Regions from separate parts of the Homo sapiens genome. Here region 2 is linked to region 1. Evidence: promoter capture Hi-C in human tissues and cell types (Jung and others, 2019). All regions are on one chromosome and are shown on one strand. The core of a region is centred on a gene start or on the middle of the fragment in contact, and the rest is flanking DNA. Distances in the headings are between cores, read along the strand shown.

Region 1 (5,652 bases), core at 1,609-4,108:
TTTGAGACGGAGTTTCGCTCTTGTTGCCCAGGCTGGAGTGCAGTGGCGGCACGATCTTAACTCACTGCAGCCTCCGCCTCCTGGGTTCAAGCAATTCTCTTGCCTCAGCCTCCCAAGTAGCTGGGATTACAGGTGGCCACCACCATGCCTGGCTAATTTTTGTATTTTTAGTAGAGATGGGGTTTCACCATGTTGGCCAGGCTGGTCTCGAACTCCTAGCCTCAGGTGAAACCCCCACTTTGGCCTCCCAATTGCTGGGATTACAGGCGTGAGCCACCATGCCCGGCTGATGTTTCAGGTTCTTAGAAGCAGTGTATATAATTTCTTTCCAGCTCACATTAACCTGCTGAGCAGCTAGACACACTAAACTCAATTTCTATTTACAGCCAGACCTCATAGGGTGAGTAGAAAAAACCCAATGGCGAAAGATCTGAGACAAACAGAGGCCAAATGAACAGGCACAGGTAATTCAGAAATTCAGTGGTAGGCATGGGAACAGAGCCCAGGGGTCCCAACTCTTCGTTTCTTTCTGGAAGACACTCAACTGTGATTATACACGGGGTGGGCAGCAATGCCAGTGTGGTAGCCCCAGAGGATCTGAAAACACTGGAGTGACCGGGACACTGGAATTCCAACTGCAGCCCACATGGGGTGGTTTTCCTTGGGAAGCCTCTCTAAAGAAGGGAATTTAGCTTGCCTGCTCTTTTAGAATGTGCCAGCGGAAGTGGCAAATTTAAGATTAAAAAGGGGACCTTGTGGGCTGGAGATGGGGTGCTTTTCCTGTATATCACAGGAACTCTTGACCCTGGCAGGGGAATTTGGGACTCTTGGGTTCTGTTTCTGGCCTGCTATAGTCTCCAACTCTCTGGATATGATGCTGGTCTAGAGGGGGCCCTCCTGTCAAAGGCTCAACTGCAGACCCAGAAACCGAACCCACCCGGGTACCTGTGGATCCCTGTCCCAGAGCACAGCTATAGTAACACCCTGGGGAACGAGGAGATACCTAGGCCCAGCTGCATTTCTCAGACCTAAACGCCTAGAACCCAAGCCACCTAGGCCTGCAGAGTCAGGTCAGAGTCCAGGTGTTATGTGCCTGCTCTGGGAATCCAAGAGCCTAAGTCAATGCCAAGTTTAACCAGAGGGTCTCTGACCCCAAGGGCAGAGCCTAGGCAGACAGAGCCCAGGGGTGTTAGCTCCGAAAATTACTGTGCCAAAACCGCAGCATTGGCCTGAAGATCCTGCCCTGTCAGGTCAGGAGACAGGAGACACTGGGTCGAGAAAGGGCAGAGGTCATTTGCAGAGCATGTTTGGGAAAGGAAGCCAGTGTTCAATTGTGTAACCACAGGATGCCCGCCCCTCGAGCTTTCCATCTGCCTTCATGCCTCAGGTCCAATGAAGTGACGTCCCCTGCCTTCTAGGACGCTGAGAACTGTCGAGGAGGCCCATCTTCTGCAAGGTGGGGCAACAACACGGACAGGTAGAGGTACCTAGGCCGGCTGGATACATTCCTCTGCTGACCTATCTCATCAGTATCTTTGGTTACTATCTGGCCAACTCACAGTTGTGGGAAACCTCAGCTTTGGGACTGGGGCCAGGTCCCTGGACAACCCCAGCCCCTGTCCCATGCTTCCTCGACCCACAAGCCCTGTCTAGCCTGGCTCTGACAGGCAGGCCGCAGCCATTACGGCAGCCTCAGCTCACACCCATGGAGCTCATCTTCCCCTTTTTTGAGAGAGATTTTAACTCCTTCCCCACCACTCCCCTGGCGCTGAAAGACTTACAATCACCCACTTCAGTGTTGACGACCCAAAGCCCTTAGAGCCACTCTCCCAAGGCCCCAGTGGGCCGTGCCCCTACACCTCATCCTCTCTTGTCGGGAGCACCTGCTCCTGCAAACTTCTGAGCCAGACGGAGTCTCCAAACTCCCGTTACCATGCGATCCTCCCTGGACCCCCGGCTAGACACTGCGGGTCGGGGAGAAGTTGGGGAGGAGTCTGGGCTTGAGCCAAGGGCCTCAGCTGACTCCTCTACCCCGGGGGATACCTCCCCTCCCCCTCAATAGGGCCGGGGCTTCCTCTTCCGGCAAGGAGGGGTTAAGCCCTCTGGGTGGGGCTGGGCTTGCCCAAACCCCCTCCTCAAGCCTCTCGGCCGCCCCGTCCCGTGACCCTCTACCCGCGGGACAGGAAGGCCCGTGCACTTTCGCCCCGTCATGCCCCCTTGCGCGGGGGCCAGAGGGGGCCCGTCTCAGCCGGCAGCGGGTCCCTCCTGCTTCGAGAGCCCCTCGGTGCCGCCTGCCCCGTGGCACCGGCCCTGTCTGTTCGTCCCCCTTCCCCTGCCCCCAGCCGTGCAGTACCGGCCCGGGTGAGAGAGCGGGTCGCGCGCCGCCCCGGTCCCCCACGGCACGGGCCGTACTAGGCCCCAAGCGCTCGGGGCCGGCTCCTCCCCCGCCCGGCGCCCGGCCGTGCCCGGCTATGCCAGGCGGCGACCCCGGCTCAGCAGGGCGCGGCGCGGGCGGGGACAGGCCCGACCCGCGGCCCGCGCCCGGGGACCCCGCGCCCGACGCCCTCGTACCGCGATCACGTTGACGAAGGTGGTCTTGCCCGAGTACTGAAGCCCGACCAGCGTGAGCTCCATCTCCTCCTTCCAGAATAGGGCCTTGAACCAGTCCAGCAGCTTGTTGAACAAAGCGATCATGGTCGCTGCCGCCGGCCCCGCCCGGTGCCAGGTCCCCGCCGCCCCTCGCTGCCCTCGCGCTGCGGCCCGGAGCGGCCCCTCCCCGGTACGGCCCGGGTCCCGCGGCTCGGTGCGGGCGGAGGCTCGAGCGCGGCTGCCGACGACTCGCTGCCCCGGAATCGGCTCGCCGATGGGTGTGGCTTCCGCGCCCTCCTCCTCCGCCGCCGCCGCCGCCCTCCCTCGCGGCCGGGCCGTGTCCTGCTCGCACCCGAGCGCGCGCTCCTCCCTCGCTGGAGCCGGGGGGCCAGGGGCCGCACCCGCAGGTGGGGTGAGCAGGGAATCCGCAGGTGGGGTGAGCAGGGAATCCGCAGGCTTCAGCGGCGGGGGTTGACCGGCAGCTGGCGTCGAGAGGCGCTTGGGAAATGGGGTCTAATTTATTTTAGACCCTGTCCCCGACTGCCGCGCCCTGACTGGCACCCCCTTTCTTAAAGGGTGGTGGGCTCGAGGTGGGTGAGGTTCCGGTTAAGCAGGAGCCTTTTCAGGTTGAAGGAGAGTGGGTCACCCACTTCCCAGGACACGGAGATGAGATCTCTACGACAGGGAGGCAGATGGAGGCTTTTTTGTCCCTGAACCCTTGCCTCTGAGCATTCCTGGGTACAGTCCCATCCTCTCAAAATGCACCCAGTGCAGAGGGACAACCGTATTCGGGTCTTTTAATACTCCATCTTGTTTTGTTCACCACAATTTACCCCGACCACTTGTTAGGAAGCCTCTGGCCCCAAGTGAAACGGACGCTTGAACTTGCTCCGGATTTTTACCAGCATCCCCAAGATACCCAAACAGATACAGTCCTGGCAGGGGGTTTTCAGTGAGGAACGTCTGTGACAAAGGAAAATGTTGCCCTGTTTTGGTGAAAAGCAGAGTATTCTTCAGGAGGAGAAGTGATAGTTCTCCTCTTGAAGTGGGTCTGGAGTGCCTGCAAAGATGCCTTACTCCTGCCCCTCTCCTTGCAAGACCCACCCATAGGACCTGCTCAGGCAGGCTGACAACCTCAGCTGGCAGTCCCGGGTAGGCTCAGGCTTCGGGCAGTCCCCAGCCTATGCTGGCTGCCCGTTGGGGTTTGGTTTTCAAATGTAGTCATATGTAGTCTATTGTTTTAGTCAAAAGTGGGTAAACTATCAATATCAACCATATCTGTCCAATCAACTGGAGTTAGATGACCCCAAATAGTCAAACAGTTACCAAAGTAGAAGAATCACAAGGTTTCGGCTAGCATAATATTGTTTTTTTTTTTTTTTTTGATGGGGTCTCACTGTGTGGCCCAGGCTGGAGTGCAGCGGTGGGATCTCGACTCACTGCAGCCTCCACCTCCTCGGGCTCAGGTGATTCTTCTACCTCAGCCTCCCGAGTAGCTGGGACTACAGGCATGCGCCACCATGCCAGCCTAATTTTTGTATATTTGGTAGAGACGGGGTTTTGCCATGTTGTCCAGGCTGGTCTCGAAGCCCTGAGCTCAAGCCATCTGCCTGCCTCAGCCTCCCAAAGTGCTGGGATTACAGGCATGAGCCTGGCCAATATTCTGGTTTATTAAGCACCATCTTTCTAACCTCTGCCCTTTATAAGTCCTCCTCTAGCTCCTAAGATAAAGGCTATGGACTGAATGTTTGTGTCCCCCCAAATTCATAGGTTGAAGTCCTAATCCCTAAAGTGATGGTATTAGGAGGTGATTAAGTCATGAGGGTAGAGCCTTATAAAGGGGGCCGGTGGGATTAGGGGGAAGAATACCAGCCCACAACCTTTTCACCATGCAAGGACAGAAAGAAGGCTCTGCCTAATAGCCAGACACTGAGTCTGCAAGGGTCTTGATCCTAGACTTCCCAGCTTCCAGAACTGTGAGCAACACATTTCTTTTTTTCTTTTTTCTTTTTTTTTTGAGATGGAGTCTTGCTCTGTCATCCAGGCTGGAGTGCAGTGGCATGATAGCTCACTGCACCCTCCACCTCCAGGGTTCAAACAATTCTTCTGCCTCAGCCTCCCGAATAGCTGACTACAGGTGTGTGCTACCACGTCCGGCTAATTTTTTGTATTTTTAGTAGAGACAGCGTTTCACTGTGTTAGCTGGATCTCCTGACCTCGTGATCCGCCTGCCTCGGCCTCCCAAAGTGCTGGGATTACAGGCATGAGCCACCACGCCAGGCCAGCAATACATTTCTGTTGTTTAGAAGCCACATGGTTTACGGTAGTGTGAATTGTTACAGCTGCCTGGGTAGGCTATGAGGGTCCACCCTGTCTCACTTCCTAAATTGACTTTGGTTTCACCTTACTTTATGTCCTTGGAAGTGCTAGAAAAGTGCATATCCCAAGGGCAAAGATTTGCAGCCTGCCTGTCCCTGGTCTGCAGTCTTTCTCTCTTGCTACAAAGAGGCCCCAGAGGGCCAAGAAGAAGATGGAAAGAAGGAATGAGTCAGTCATCCAAGAAGTCTTTATTTTCCCACTTGGTTACTGTTCTGGAGCTTGTACCCTCTGAGCTCTGAGATGGGGTTGGGGGGACAGTGCCAGGGAGGGCCTGTGGGGCTGTGCAGTTGCTTCCCTCTGGGCTGGCTCTGAGCCCAGGGCAGGATCAGGCACTTGAGAGCCCCCCACCGAGCCTCATTGGCATAGACAGTCGTGCCTCTCACAGGGCTCAGGGGAGGTGGAGGTGTGGGCAAGTCCATCCCCAAGGCTGTAAGGAAGGAGCAGCTCCTCCATAAGGCCAAGCAGAAGCATTAGGGAAATCATCCTCAGTTTTAGCACTGCGTGTTCTTCAGGAGAGAAGTCCTGAGTGAGGAGGCCCAGCTGTTCTCCAGATCCAACTCCTCGGGGGTTTCCACAGAGAGCTGGTATCAAGGCAGCTGTCAGGGGCGGCGTGCCTGGTGATGCGGCATCTTACCTTCATCCCCATCTCAGAATGGGCAGCCAGTCTCAGATTCAAGGAGGAGG
Region 2 (5,382 bases), core at 2,769-5,268, 270 kb before region 1:
GCACCAAAGAAAAGGTGGTGGCTGGTGAATTTAAATGAAAGATTCCCTAGGTCTGGTCTTAGCTATGAAGCTATGGTTTTAACATCGTAAGCAAAGAATCTGGCTTTCAATTAGCAAAAAATAGAATTGTGCTGTAAATGTAGCAGCATTAAAAAATAGAGTACCTATTTCTGTAACACTTACTCTCTAGTAAGGACTTAGGGATAAAGATAATAAATAAAGGGCTAATAAGCAAGAGACATAATTCAGAACTTTGATGATAGAATAGGAAATTGGGCAAATGAAAAGCCTCCTAAAAGAAAAGGGCTAGGACTATAATTTAGAAAAGGAGATACTAAAGAAAGATATATGGAAAAGTTTATAAACAAAGGTATTCACTAGATATTTTTTACAGTAGTAAAAATTTGGAAATTATAAAAAGACATTAGTTAATTATATCCATAAAATGAAATACTGTGCAGCCATTAAAAATCAAGCTTAAAAGGAATATCTGAAACCATGGGAAAGAGCTTACATTATAATAAATGAAAAGATACTTTTCCCAAAAAATCCATAGAATATGATCCCAAGTTTTGATTTTTCTTTTAGAAAAGCATGTATGTATAGATAGGTATGTTTTAAAAAAAAATACATCAAAATGTTGAGTGTTTAGGTAGTGGAATTACAGGTGTTTTCATTATTACTTTTCTGCATTTTAAGTTTTTTTTTTCCTGTAGTGAATGTATTTATTAATACCTTATTACTAGTAAAATATTAAGGATTCTTTTTTTAAAGAGAGAGCTCCAATATTGAAGCTCAGAAAGATGTACAGGATAAGGATTATTTATATAATGTGATATACTGAACATGTTATTTGATAGCTTTTTCACTGAAAAATGTGTACTGAGGAGCTTTCCACATTGTGTTCTTGGATATATCTCATTCTTTTCAGCCATTACTAATGTTCCATAAAATGGGTATATCATAATTTACCCATTCTGTTAATGGACATCTAGGGTATTCCCAATTTTTTTCTATTACAAACAATGCTGCAGTGATCTTTTAAGGTATACTTTAATGCACATTGCCTATATTTTTCCATACTAAATAGAGGAGGATGTTTTGTTCTATAGATAAAGAAGATTGAGCTAAAGTTCCCTTTCTTCATAAGGCTCTGCTTTTTAGGAGTTTTGCCTTTTGCCCCAGAAGTAGCTTTGAGAGTTCTTCATGTCTACCGTGGCTACCCCATAGGAGATATGTATGATTTCTCTCATGCATCAAAGCCAGTGTTTTGGCAATTTTTGCAGCTTTCATGTCTTCTTAAAGTATCAGTTGGGCTTTTTTTTTTTTTTTAAGCATTTGGTTTTATAACGTAGGTTTCACAAGAATAAAGACTTTAAAGATTTTTCTCTAGAAAAAGCCACATTTTGTTTTATGAGTAGCTGTTAATGACTAGTCCCTACTTTAATGAAGCCATACAAAGTGTACCTCTTGCAGATTTAGGATCTCTCCTGTTCTTTCAGGTTATTCATGTGGCCCCACTAGGTCCCGGGTATGTGATAAGTAATCAATGCAGAAGTTGTTAACTTAGGTTAGGGCCAAACAACAGGCATCATTAAGCGAGAAGCAGATGCAGACCATCAGGCAGGGGGATTCCGTGTTGCCTTATCCACTTCAGATCCCGTCGTCGCCTCACTGGCTCAGGACATCTTCAAGGAGCTGTCCCAGATTGAAGCCTGTCAGGGCCCAATGCAAATGAGGCTGATTCCCACTCTGGTCAGCATAATGCAGGCCCCAGCAGACAAGATTCCTGCAGGGCTTTGTGCGGTAAGTGGCCGTGTGTGTGTGTGTGTGTGTGTGAGAGAGATCTACAAGTGCCACCCACAGATGCATCTAGCTGACAAGAACCTAATAGCGTTAGAGATTCATGGGGTGATTTTGCTGAGCTCTTTTGCCTGCAAGGACAGTGGGTGATTCTCTGAAGCTTTAAGAAAATGGCTTGGCTTGGCGCGGTGGCTCATGCCTATAATTGCAGCACTTTGGGAGGCCGAGGTGGGTGGATCACAAGGTCAGGAGTTCGAGACCAGCCTGGCCAATGTGGTGAAACCCTATCTCTACTAAAAATACAAAAATTAGCCGGGCATGGTGGCAGGCATCTGCAGTACCAGCTACTCAAGAGGCTGAGGCAGGAGAATCACTTGAACCCAGGAGGCAGAGGTTGCAGTGAGTGGAGATCGTGCCACTGCACTCCAGCCTGGGTGACAGAGCGAGACTGCCTCAAAAAGAAAGAAAGAAAGAAAATGGCTCTTCTTGTTCCAGAGGTACCCTCAGTGAATTGAACAGAGTGCCACCTTTACACAGTGCCACTAAGTATGTCACCTGGTTATCCAATCCACTACCATGTACTACTGCCCACCCCTATGGCTAATCAATTAGTAAGCTATTATGAGAAGGCTGAGAGTACTACCCATTTAATTATTCCTTTTATTTTGGAAACTTGCCTTTCATTAATAAGCTTTCTCTGGGTTGCTATGTAATACCCATCCAGTAAGGATCTTGGTTGTTGGGCAACCCCCACCCCAGAGGCAATTCTGACTTTTCTTTTTCTTCTCTCTTTCAGACAGCCATTGATATCCTGACAACAGTAGTACGAAATACAAAGCCTCCCCTTTCCCAGCTTCTCATCTGCCAAGCTTTCCCTGCTGTGGCACAGTGTACCCTTCACACAGATGACAATGCCACCATGCAGGTATCTGAGACATGGAGAGTAGAAGAGGGAAGATAGCTCCCCAGCCATGGGCTTATACTATGCTGAGAAATCTGACATGGTTTTATGCTTTTGAAATACGGAATTCTCAACTCCATATTTACTTAGCAGATTCAGGAAGGGTTCAGTCTGCAAAAGCCAAGCATTTCTGGTGCTTTGGAGCATGTTACAGTTTTTAAAAATATGGATACCAAGCACCCTGCCCATCTGTATTGGGTATTGCTACTGTGAAAGAGGTTACAGACATCTAGACTTGGGGCCATAAGAAAGTCTTTCTGCATATTTCTTCTAGTAATAAAGTCAGCAGAGTGATGGGCCTCTAGAGAGGGGAGACATGCCTGAATATTTTTTCTCTTTTTGTTTCTTGGGTGAATTGGTTACCTTTTCAGGTGTCTGCTACTGTGATTGATTAGAAAGGTTATAGGAACTTGCCAGTGAATATTGATCAGCTTGGAAATCCCTAGGCAACTAGTGGTTTGTGTAAGACCTATATAAAGACCTACAGTATCCCCAGTTATTCCAAGATTGTAAGCATATTTTTTTAGTACCAGAGGTAGACCTTTATGATTAAAATTCATTTTGCTTGGCCATTGTCCCTTGTGATTAAAAAAATATATATACACATTTGTGAGATAGCTGATTAGGTAAAGGGGGAATTATGTAATGCACGTCTATGTCTGTAACAGTAAATGTCTTAACTCCAGTGGTATGAGCCCACCACAAACATTATAGACTCACCGCTTTTATGAGGCATAGGCCTCTGGGAACATTTGTTTATACAGACTGAGGGCCTTCTGGCATCTGTCCCTCGATTACTAATCTTGCTTGCCACCCCTGTCTCCCCAGAATGGCGGAGAGTGCTTGCGGGCCTATGTGTCAGTGACCCTGGAACAAGTAGCCCAGTGGCATGATGAGCAGGGCCACAATGGACTGTGGTATGTGATGCAAGTGGTGAGCCAGCTCCTGGACCCCCGCACCTCAGAGTTCACTGCGGCCTTTGTGGGCCGCCTTGTTTCCACCCTCATCTCCAAGGCAGGGCGGGAACTCGGGGAGAATCTAGACCAGATTCTTCGTGCCATCCTCAGTAAGATGCAGCAGGCAGAGACGCTCAGTGTCATGCAGGTAAGAGAGCAGTGGGGAGTGGGCTTCCTACTCCCTGGCTGATAGAAATGAAAATTCGTATTTTGGTCCTGAGTTATTTTATTTTACCCTCTTACTAGCCTTGTAGGACAGTTAAGTAAAATGGGACCTGTCTGATCTGTTTGGCCTAAGAAACATGGACAAGGAAATCTCCCATGTTTTCTTGTCCTGTGGATAATACCCTCAGTGTAGACTGTATTTCTTATCTGACTGGCCAGTTCCCTCTCATCTCCTATGTCTCTGAAATTGATTTCCCTGAAGCAAATGTCCTTATTTTCTCCTAGTCCCTGATCATGGTGTTCGCTCATCTGGTGCACACTCAGCTAGAACCTCTCTTGGAGTTCCTGTGTAGCCTCCCAGGACCTACTGGCAAACCTGCTCTAGAGTTTGTGATGGCTGAGTGGACAAGCCGACAGCACCTGTTCTATGGACAGTATGAAGGCAAAGTCAGGTAGAACCTCATCTTTCTTTTCTGGGCATTCTGCCACCACTCATATTTCTTTTTTTTTTTTTTTTTTTTTTTTTTTTTTGAGACAGTCTCGCTCTGTCGCCCAGGCTGGAGTGCAGTGGCACAATCTTGGCTCACTGCAACCTCCACCTCCTAGGTTCAAGCAATTCTCCTGCTCCTGCCTCAGCCGTCCGAATATTACACACATGCACCACCATACCCAGTGAATTCTTTGTGTGTGTGTTTTTAGTAGAGAGAGGGTTTCACCATGTTGGCCAGGCTGGTCTTGAACTCCTGACCTCAAGTGATCCACCCACTTCGGCCTCCCACAGTGCTGGGATTACAGGTGTGAGCCACTGCTCCTGACACATATTTCTTTTTTTTCCTGATTTGCTCCATTGATTTTTGTTTGACATTTCAAATGGCTCTCTGTATTCCCTTTTCCCTGTCTTTCTTTATTGCTAACGCACATATGTGAATAGCTGCCATCTTGAAATCCCCAAAAGACAGTCAACACAGGTAGACTATATATTTCTGGTCTCTGTTTACAAGAGATCCCTTCTCTACCACAGACTTCACACAGCTAAGTGCTGCTAGTGGCTTATTTTCCTTTATAAGCCCAAGCCTTGGCCAGGCACAGTGGCTCACACCTATAATCCCAGCACTTTAGGAGGCTGAGGCGAGCAGATCACCGGAGGTCAGGAGTTCAAGACCAGCCTGGCAAACATGGTGAAACACTGTCTCTACTATAAATACAAAAAATAGCTGGATGTGGTTGTGGGTGCCTGTAATCCCAGCTACTCGGGAGGCTAAGGCAGGAGAATCGCTTGAACCAAGGAGGCAGATCACGCCATTGCACTTCAGCCTGGGCGACGAGCGAAATTGTCTCAGAAAAATAAAAATAAAAAACCCAACCTTCTAACCCTGGCTTCCTAACTTTTTATCCTGGATTTTTATACCACTGATTCTTATCACCTCGTTGCACCTTACAATATGGTGCAACCTTAGCTTTGTTCAAGAAGAACAGGTCACCTGTAATCCCGGCACT

What was found. Contacts are between HindIII fragments. The study calls those that stand out against the background at their distance.
Region 2: a contact is called between a fragment that was not itself captured here and the fragment with the promoter of ARL8A in region 1, in 2 of the 25 tissues and cell types used here (dorsolateral prefrontal cortex and spleen).

What each region holds. Positions count from the first base shown.
Region 1 is chr1:202,141,879-202,147,530 of GRCh38, forward strand. ARL8A (ARF like GTPase 8A) reads right to left here and starts at 2,859. Exons shown (of 7, transcript NM_138795.4): 1 at 2,572-2,859. The coding sequence starts at 2,694. It overlaps PTPN7 (protein tyrosine phosphatase non-receptor type 7), which reads right to left. Exons shown (of 10, transcript NM_002832.4): 10 at 5,138-5,652. RefSeq lists silencers at 1,800-1,849, 2,350-3,059. The HindIII fragment of the contact is 36,256 bases long and covers 1-5,652 here.
Region 2 is chr1:201,866,991-201,872,372 of GRCh38, forward strand. IPO9 (importin 9) reads left to right here. Exons shown (of 24, transcript NM_018085.5): 16 at 1,658-1,806; 17 at 2,600-2,728; 18 at 3,593-3,868; 19 at 4,171-4,337. Among named protein-coding and RNA genes, the nearest start is that of MIR6739, 6.3 kb to the left of the region's middle. RefSeq lists a silencer at 1,640-1,855. The HindIII fragment of the contact is 8,088 bases long and covers 1-5,382 here.